3 separate regions of the Homo sapiens genome follow, and all the other regions are linked to region 3. The links are contacts of gene promoters, found by promoter capture Hi-C in blood cells and fetal thymus (Javierre and others, 2016). All regions are on one chromosome and are shown on one strand. The core of a region is centred on a gene start or on the middle of the fragment in contact, and the rest is flanking DNA. Distances in the headings are between cores, read along the strand shown.

Evidence for each region. Contacts are between HindIII fragments. The CHiCAGO score rates a contact against its expected background, and 5 or more counts as called.
Region 1: a contact is called between a fragment that was not itself captured here and the fragment with the promoter of RNASEH1 in region 3, in 1 of 17 cell types (neutrophils). The highest score is 5.0, in neutrophils.
Region 2: a fragment that was not itself captured here is called in contact with the fragment with the promoter of RNASEH1 in region 3 in 3 of 17 cell types (neutrophils, naive CD8 T cells and total CD8 T cells); the score reaches 9.2 in neutrophils.

The regions. Positions count from the first base shown.
Region 1 is chr2:3,350,718-3,353,620 of GRCh38, reverse strand. The region is part of intron 2 of EIPR1 (EARP complex and GARP complex interacting protein 1); the gene reads left to right. Among named protein-coding and RNA genes, the nearest start is that of EIPR1, 26 kb to the left of the region's middle. The HindIII fragment of the contact is 2,211 bases long and covers 504-2,714 here.
Region 2 is chr2:3,391,510-3,394,614 of GRCh38, reverse strand. The region is part of intron 2 of TRAPPC12 (trafficking protein particle complex subunit 12); the gene reads right to left. Among named protein-coding and RNA genes, the nearest start is that of TRAPPC12, 13 kb to the right of the region's middle. The HindIII fragment of the contact is 1,920 bases long and covers 506-2,425 here.
Region 3 is chr2:3,557,053-3,559,909 of GRCh38, reverse strand. It overlaps RNASEH1 (ribonuclease H1), which reads left to right and starts at 1,577. Exons shown (of 8, transcript NM_002936.6): 1 at 1,577-1,777. The coding sequence starts at 1,650. RNASEH1-DT (RNASEH1 divergent transcript) reads right to left here and starts at 1,524. Exons shown (of 3, transcript NR_038429.1): 1 at 912-1,524; 2 at 181-462. RefSeq lists silencers at 1,126-1,445, 1,816-1,915 and an enhancer at 1,476-1,725. The HindIII fragment of the contact is 22,605 bases long and covers 1-2,857 here.

The sequences.
Region 1 (2,903 bases), core at 360-2,859, 210 kb after region 3:
AATGATACTTATAGTTATAAAAACTTACAAGCAATCAGAATATCAAAATGCGTGAATGTTAGGTTGAACAATATGAAATTGCCACTTGTAATGGCAGATTCATACACTTCCCTCAGGTTGAATCTGGTTACTCACAGTGAATAGTATTCCCTTATTACACTCATTAAAAGTTATAGACTCCTAAGAAACATGACAACTTAAGAATCGTTAGATGATTTGGTGGGATGTTAAAATTGTGCTTACAGTATGATCAACGTGGTGTAAAAAAGCAAAGTGCACAATTGAATCTCTTCTTAGAATAAAGACTGGAAGGAAATAGGCCAAAAAGGACTAAAAATTGAGCCAAGGGTTATCTTCAGATGCTTTTCACAGGGGATGTGTTCCAAGACCACCCAGCGGATGCCAGGAAACCTTGGTGAGTACTGAACCCTAAACATATCATGCTTTTTCCTATACTTACATATAGGTAAAGTTTAAGGTATAAGTTAGGCACAACAAAAGCTTAACAACATAACTAATAAAAACACAATGATTATTAGTTATGAAAGTTATATGAATATGGTCTCTGTCTGTCAGAACACCTTACTGTACTATACTCACCCTTCTTCTGGTTTTTGTTTTTTTGAGACAGAGTTTCACTCTGTTGCCCAGGCTAGAGTGCAATGGCACGATCTCAGCTCACTGCAACCTCCGCCTCCCAGGTTGAAGTGATTCTCCTGCCTCAGCCTCCTGAGTGGCTGGGATTACAGGCATGCACCACCACGCCCAGCTAATTTTTGTATTTTTAGTAGAGACGGGGTTTCACCACGTTGGCCAGGCTGGTCTCAAACTCCTGACCTCAGGTTATCTGCTGGCCTCAGCCTCCCAAAGTGTTGGGATTACAGGCGTGAGCCACTGCGCCCAGCCACTCATCCTTTTTCTTGAGAAGATGTGCAATAATATAAGGCCTGTGTGATGAGATGAAGTGAGGGGAATGACATAGGCATTGTGATGTAGCGTTAGGCTATTACTGACCTTCAGAGGATATGTCAACAGCAGGAGTATCTGTTTTGGGTGATCTGGATCATCAAGCCATAAGGTGTTGATGGTTGGATGTCAGGAACAGACAGTGTGGGTGGCTCAGGGGCAGGTAGCTTCTGTAGCATGGATATGCTGATCAAAGGTGTCGGGAACAGACAGTGTGGTTGGCTCAGGGGCAGGTAGCTTCTGTAGCATGGATATGCTGATCAAAGGTGTCGGGAACAGACAGTGTGGATGGCTCAGGGGCAGGTAGCTTCTGTAGCATGGATATGCTGATCAAAGGTGTCCGGAACAGACAGTGTGGGTGGCTCAGGGGCAGGTCGCTTCTGTAGCATGGATATGCTGATCAAAGGTGTCGGGAACAGACAGTATGGATGGCTCAGGGGCAGGTCGCTTCTGTAGCATGGATATGCTGATCAAAGGTGTCCGGAACAGACAGTGTGGGTGGCTCAGGGGCAGGTCGCTTCTGTAGCATGGATATGCTGATCAAAGGTGTCCGGAACAGACAGTGTGGGTGGCTCAGGGGCAGGTCGCTTCTGTAGCATGGATATGCTGATCAAAGGTGTCCGGAACAGACAGTGTGGGTGGCTCAGGGGCAGGTAGCTTCTGTAGCATGGATATGCTGATCAAAGGGATGACTCACGTTTCGGGTGGGATGGAGTGGGATGGCTCCAGACTTCACCACACTACTCAGAATGGTATGTGATTTAGACTTATGAATTGCTTATTTCTGGAATTTTTCATTTAATATTTTTGTGTTACACTTGACCACAGGTAACTGAAACCTGAGAAAGCAAAACCTCAAATTGGGATGAGGTGGGGGCAACATCTATTCAGGATGTAAAATTCTTTTCTTTCTAATGTTTTGTTTTCCGAATGTGTATGTATGTATGTGTGTTACTTTTCTACTGGAAAAAATATAAGAAGGGAATTACTTATTTATAAAAATAGTTACCAGTGGCCACCTGAAAAGGAAGGAGGACCCACCATGAAGATGGCCTGTGGTTTCAGGGATGGTGCCTACAGGGGAGTTGGGGAGTAAAACCCACATGGGAGATAGTGGCACAGAGATAGGATGGGAGGCACGCCAGTCTGCCTTCCAAATGCAGCTTCAGAAAGCAGAAGTCAGCAGAAACCCAGGAATTCAACACAAAATGGGGCCATGGAAAGCATGATAGTTATGAGTAAATTACTGTGTACCTGCTCTTAGCCAGAATGTAGTAATGGCATTTCCATTTGGTAATGACATTAATGAAGAACCATTGGTACCAAAGTTATCAAAATAGAAGAAATAAGAAGAGGCCAGGTGTGGTCGCTCACGCATGTAATCCCAGCACTTCAGGAGGCCAAGGCGGGTGGATCACTTGAGATGAAGAGTTCAAGACCAGCCTGGCCAACATGGTGAAACCCTGTCTCTACTAAAAATACAAAAATTAGCTGGGTGTGGTGGCACGCACCTGTAATCCCAGCTACTTGGAAGGCTGAGGCATGAGAATCACTTGACAACTGGGAAGATGGAGGTTGCAGTGAGCCGAGATCGCACCACTGCACTCCAGGCTGGGTGACAGAGCGAGACTCTGTCTAAAAAAAAAAAAATCGCCCAAAATGACAGAAAGTGTTTTAATCTACCTTAATTTGTTTTTTTTTTTTTTTTTGGAACGAAGTAACATTCAATTAATTATTTTAAAGAAGCTTTCCAGTTTTTCTGTCTCCTTTCTTCTAAATTGAAGAGTTCTGATAATTACTCAGATTAGTTTGCCAGGATCTTATTTTTTTGAGTCAACAGTATGTTTTATTACATACCTCATGTATTTCCACACTTGCCTGCAGTTGTCTGTGTGTGAATCCGTATGGTAGGTATGAAGCTGTGTTTTTGACTTGCT
Region 2 (3,105 bases), core at 216-2,715, 170 kb after region 3:
AAGTGCTGCTCTGTTGCGCAGGCTGGAATGCAATGGTGCAATCTCAGCTCACTGCAACCTCTGCTTCCTGGGTTCACGTGATTCTCCTGCCTCAGCCTCGCAAGTAGCTGGGACTACAGGCGTGCACCACCACGTCCGGCTGTTTTTTGTATTTTTAGTAGAGATGGGGTTTCACCGTGTTAGCCAGGGTGGTCTCGATCTCCTGACCTCATGATCCACCCACCTCGGACTCCCAAAGTGCTGGGATTACAGGTGTGAGCCACCATGCCCGGCCCTCCCCTTCTTCTAGTAACAGAACTTTGGTTTTGCCTGAGCACATGGTCGCCTACCTAAAGACTATTTTCAGCCTTCCTTGCATCTTGGTGTGGCCAAGTGACTAAACCCTAGGTAGTGGGATGTGAGTGGACACACTGTCTTCCAGATGACGTATCATAAAAGGAATACTGCAGAGCTCTCCAGCCTCTCCCTCTTCCAGATGGCTGGAAGACAGCAATGGGAAAAAGCTTCCTGGACTTGGTTGAGGAAGGTAGAGTCAATCCACAGTGCTGGCCCACATATCTCCAAAGTGTTCTACCACCTGGAAATAAACATGTATCCTATTCCAGCCACCATACCTTTGGCTTTCTTTGTTAATGCAGCTGAACCTACAGCGTAACTGACAGACTTACCAAAACCTTTCATTTTACAGAGAAGAAAATAGAGCCACAGATGTTCAATGAATTCCCTTAGGTTACACAGGTTATTGGCAAACCAACAATTTGAAACCAATTCTTCTAATTCAAGGCTCTTCCTAAGCTCACATACTGATCAGGGATATGTCTACGTATCAGGCAACTTCTGGGACCCTGGAGAAGACTGAGCTACTCACTCTTTATGGAACACTAAAGTTAAGCCATTTGATTTCCAGTTCTTTTTTTTTTTTTTTAAATGTGGGTAAATAGAAAAGGCATATTTTTAAATTTTAGAATATTTAGTTGACAAATACAAATTATATATATTCAAGGTATATATGATCATTTGTTATAAATAGACATTGTGTACTGAATTCCAAAGTCGAAATAATTAACACAACCGTCACTACCCATAGTTACTGTGTGTGTGTGTATATGTGTGAGGGTGGTGAGGACACTTAAAATCTGCTCTCATCAAATTTCAAGTAAACAACGCAGTATTACTAACTATAGTCACCATGTTAAATGTACATTCCATCCCCAGCATTCCTTCTTCTTGCATAAATGAAGCTCTGTACCCTTTGAGTAACATCTCCCCATGCCCCTCACACCCCCAGGCCCCAGCTTCTATGAGTCTGACTTCTGTAGATTCCACATGTAAATGAGATCACGTGGTATTCATCATTTTGTGTCTGGCTTATTTCACTTAACCTAATGTCCACCAGGTGCATGCATATAGTCACAAATGGCAAGGTTTCCCCTTGTTTTTTAAGGACTAAATAGAATTCCATTGTGTATATTTTCTTTTCTTTAAAAACATTTTTTTTTTTAAAAAGAGACAGGTCTTACTCTGTTATCCATGCTGGAGTGCAGTGGTGCCATCATAGCTCATTGCAGCTTTGAACACCATGGCTCAAGTGAGCCTCCTGCCTCAGCCTCCTGAGAAGTTGGGATTATGGGCGTGAGCCACTACATACCAAATTTTCTCTGTCCTCTCACCTGTCGATAGGCACTTAGGTTGATTCCCTATCTGGGCTACTGTATAATTCTGCAGTGAGCATGGAGCGCAGGCATCTCTCTGAGATCCCGATTTCAATTCCTTTGGATACATACCCAGAATGGGGGACTGTTAGATCATATGGTAGCTCCATTTTTAACTTTTTCGGGCACCTCCATGTTTTCCATAATGGCTGTATTAATTTACATTCCCACCAACAGTGCACAAGGGTCCCTTTCTCCACACCCTCACCAACTCTTGCTGTCTCCAGAGTTTTCGGTTAACAGCCATGATATCTCATTGTGATTTTGATTTGCATTTCCCTGATAATTAGTGCTGTTTCTAGTTCTTTGACTTAAACAGAGATCCTTCTGAGAGAAATACAATTAGTCATTTTCTATGGTAGGGAGAAATACAACATAAGACAAAGAGGCCAGAACTAAGGCAAAGAGGACCTGTGTTCTGGCACTGGCTCTGCAGTGTTGTGGCTGCATTATCTAGGGTAAACACGCCCATGGGACTCTGCCTGGATCTCTACTGAGCCACAGGACACTGAAATTATCCATTTGCAGGTCTGCCTTCCCTTGTCTAGGCCGTCTGTCCTGGTCTGGGCTGGCGGGTAGGCATTACACCTTCCTTTGTGTCAGGAGAGAGGATGCCTGGGACATGGCAGGCTTGCTGGTGAACACACAAGTCATTCGGATCTGTTTCCTCATCATAAAAGGAGAAACTGGACAGGACCAGAGACCTTTAAGCTTTTTTGAGGAACAGGTGTTTTCCATTCCTTGAAAGCTTTGAGCTCGCTGCAAGGTACTGAGTACTCTTAGCCCTACTCACTAAATGTCATATGCTCACCCCAGCCCTTTTGTCAACCAAAGTGAAACACCTCTCCCCCTTTCCAAATGTACCTAAGACCGTTGGACTGCAGCACCCAGTTGGGAAGCAATAGGTTAAGTCTTTCCTGTGGCAACCTTCAGATTTCCTCTGAGTTACAGTCAGAGGGAGAAGCAAACGGCAAGGCAAGCAACAGAGGGTTTGAAAGAAAGTGCTAAAGGCCAGACCCACAGATGTTAAAGGAATTTTACAGCAGAGAGGACAAAGACCCCGAGAGAGAAGGGAAGAAACATGGAGCAGAACATGAAAGCCATCTTGGGGGGACAGGATACAGAGACAAGACCAGGGAGTGGGAGTACAGGTAAGAATTCAGTGACAAATAAATCCAATCCCACACATCCAAATACCCCTGACATCAGAGTCCGGAATTGGTATTCATTAAAAAGATCCTGCAAAGGTTAAATTATGCTCAGTATATTCTGCCTAAGAGGGTAGAGAAGAATGCCTAGACCAATGCCTGGTCAAGAGTAAACACACAATAAGTATAGTAAATGAATATTAGTAAATTAGTCAATGAACATTCTGGAAAGACTGCCCGTAAAA
Region 3 (2,857 bases), core at 328-2,827:
GCTACTTGGGAGGCTGAGGCAGGAGAAATGCTTGAACCCGGGAGGTGGAGGTTGCAGTGAGCCCCAATCGTGCATCGTGCCACTGCACTCCAGCCTGGGCGACACAGCAAGACTCTGTTTAAAAAAAAAAAAAAAAAAAAAAAAAGATGTTCTTCGATTTCACAGAGGAACACAACTTACCACGCCAATGTACGCGTCGCTTTTGCCTGGGCCGTTCCTTCTTCCTAGAATGTCCTGCTTCTTTCTCTTTGTCTAACTCATGTGAATGAACTTTTTAAAAAATTAGTATCCTTCAAAACTGTATTTGCTCAGGCGTTCTGATGTGAGGCCCTCCTGACTCTCCAGGTGCGGGTGCTTCTCTGCTCTGTGTCTCTCACCTCCAACAGCTTGTTCTGCCTGCGCACTATTTGCTGATGTGTTATCTCCGGGGATTCTCGAATTTCTCACCTTCATCCCCAAGGCCTGACAAAATACATGGCAGGTGTGCAAAAGGCTTGTTAGAAGACCTTAAGAAAATTAAAGAAAAGTGGTTTAAAAATAATTCGAATAACAATGTTTGCCAATGGAGACTTTTTTTTTTTTTTTGAGACGGAATCACGCTCTGTCGCCCAGATGCAACCTCCACCTCTCGAGTTCGAGCGCCTCTCCTGCTTCAGCCTCCTGAGTAGCTGGGATTACAGGCGCAGGCGACCACGCCCGGCTAATTTTTGTATTTTTAGTAGAGACAGGGTTTCATCATATTGGCCAGGATGGTCTCGATCTCCTGACCTGGTGATCCACCCGCCTTGGCCTCCCAAAGTGCTGAGATTACAGGCGTAAGCCACCACGCCCCTCCAACCCATGAACACTTTTAAAATTACTTGATTTGCTTACAGAGCAAAAGGTCAAATGGGGAGAATTCTAAAAGTTACCTTCTCAACTCAGTTTTCTCCCGGGTCGTGGTGCTTGAGGCACTGGATATCCCCTGGTTAAACACCCACGTGCAGTGGAGCAGGGAGGGGACGCGCCCCTTCGGGGGTGGGCGCCCAAGGCAAGGGGAGGAATGCGGCTTCCACGGCCTCCCCTCTCGCCCTCCTTTGTGCTTATTCTAATTCATGAATTCTAACATCTTTCTGCCCACTAAAAAATGTGCATTCATTCATCTGGCCACAGCCCTTACTGTAGATCCGCATCCCTGGAGCTCTCGAGGAGCCGCGGTTACCGCACGTGGGTGCCGGGCGCCAGGGGGTTCAAGGGCTTCCCGCGGTGACCCGAGCACGCCGGGGCGTGGCCCCCGAACTGCGGCCTGGGGGCGGGGAGAGAAGGGGCCCAACATGGTCCATCTCGACCTTCCTCTGCCGGGCCCAGGGCTTCAGCCCCGCTCCCATAGGCCCCGCCCCATCCCAGACCTCGCCCGCCTTCGGGATCTCAGCCCTGGCTCCGCTTCTTCAAGTACCGACAGGAAGTTGACGAGTTCGGGCTCGTCAGGGGCCGAGCTCCGGGCTCCGCCCTACGACACCGCCCCTCCCTAGGCCCCGGCCCTCATCAGGACTCCGCCCAGACGTGCGTCATCTTCCCGCGCCGGTGACGGAAGTGCGGTGTTGAGCGCCGGCGGCTCGCGCCCACGCTGGGCCGGGAGTCGAAATGCTTCCCGGTGCCGGGAGTGAGCGATGAGCTGGCTTCTGTTCCTGGCCCACAGAGTCGCCTTGGCCGCCTTGCCCTGCCGCCGCGGCTCTCGCGGGTTCGGGATGTTCTATGCCGTGAGGAGGGGCCGCAAGACCGGGGTCTTTCTGACCTGGTGAGTGGCCCGCCCGCCGAGGCGCCTCCCTGCCGGCATCGGGGTCGAGGGAGGCCGGAGCCCGGCTAACCCCGGCGGCGGGAGCCTGGCGGTCCGAGTCTGTGCCGCGCGCTGTGGCTGTGGGTGGTCGGGGGACCGCCTCGTTTTCCTGCTCGGCCGGCGGGGTTCCAGGAGGCTCATGGCCTGGGACTGGAACGCACCGAAGACTTGTTTGAAATATCAGAAACGTCGCGTAAAGGTTAGGGGTGGCCTAATAAACCCTGTGTTTAATCCTCCATCTTTGTTGCAGTTAAAGTGCAACAAAAAGTGACACGTAATCAGAACGAACCCCCGTTACCAGAAGACTTTCCGTACCAGCTAAATTGGGATTGGAACTCAGTACCTAATCTTCCCTTTTAAAAAAGGCAAATTCTAATAAGCCAGTATTTGCAGTTGGATCCTTGTAACAACCCTTGGAGGTGAGAGGGATTATTCTCACTTTCAGGTATAGTTCTTGGGGTCAGGAAGTTCCCAGGGCATGTAACTGACAGAGAAAGGACTTGAGCCCAGCTGTTCTGACTGTACCACCAGAACTCTTCCCACTACAAGATACCAAAGTTCGTTACCTGTGTTTCCCCATGCACGGCAGCTACAGTATTGAGGAAGAAGCATCTCAGAAGTTGACCTTTTTGTTGTAAAGAAATGGTTAATATTTTTTTCAAAGACCGCAGTATTTTGTTATGCTTTGAGTTTGACGAAAGCCTTATGGTGCTGGTGTGCTGGCTGGCTGGCATACAGTAGAACACAGGTGTAGAGTCTGACGTGCAGGATAAAACTATAAGGTGCGACTCTGCCCTTTTCACGCAAAAATTGGTCCTCTATATCCAGTTTGCATCCTCAGTTTCAGCTAACCATAGATCAAAAATATTTGGAAAAAATTAAAATAGAATACAGTTTTAAAATACGCATAAAAAGACAATACAACTATATAGATTGTATTAGGTATTATAAACTAGAGATGATTTAAAGCATGCAAGAAGATGTGTGTGGGTTATTTGCAAATACACCATTTTATGCAAAGGACTTAAGCATCCTCTGATG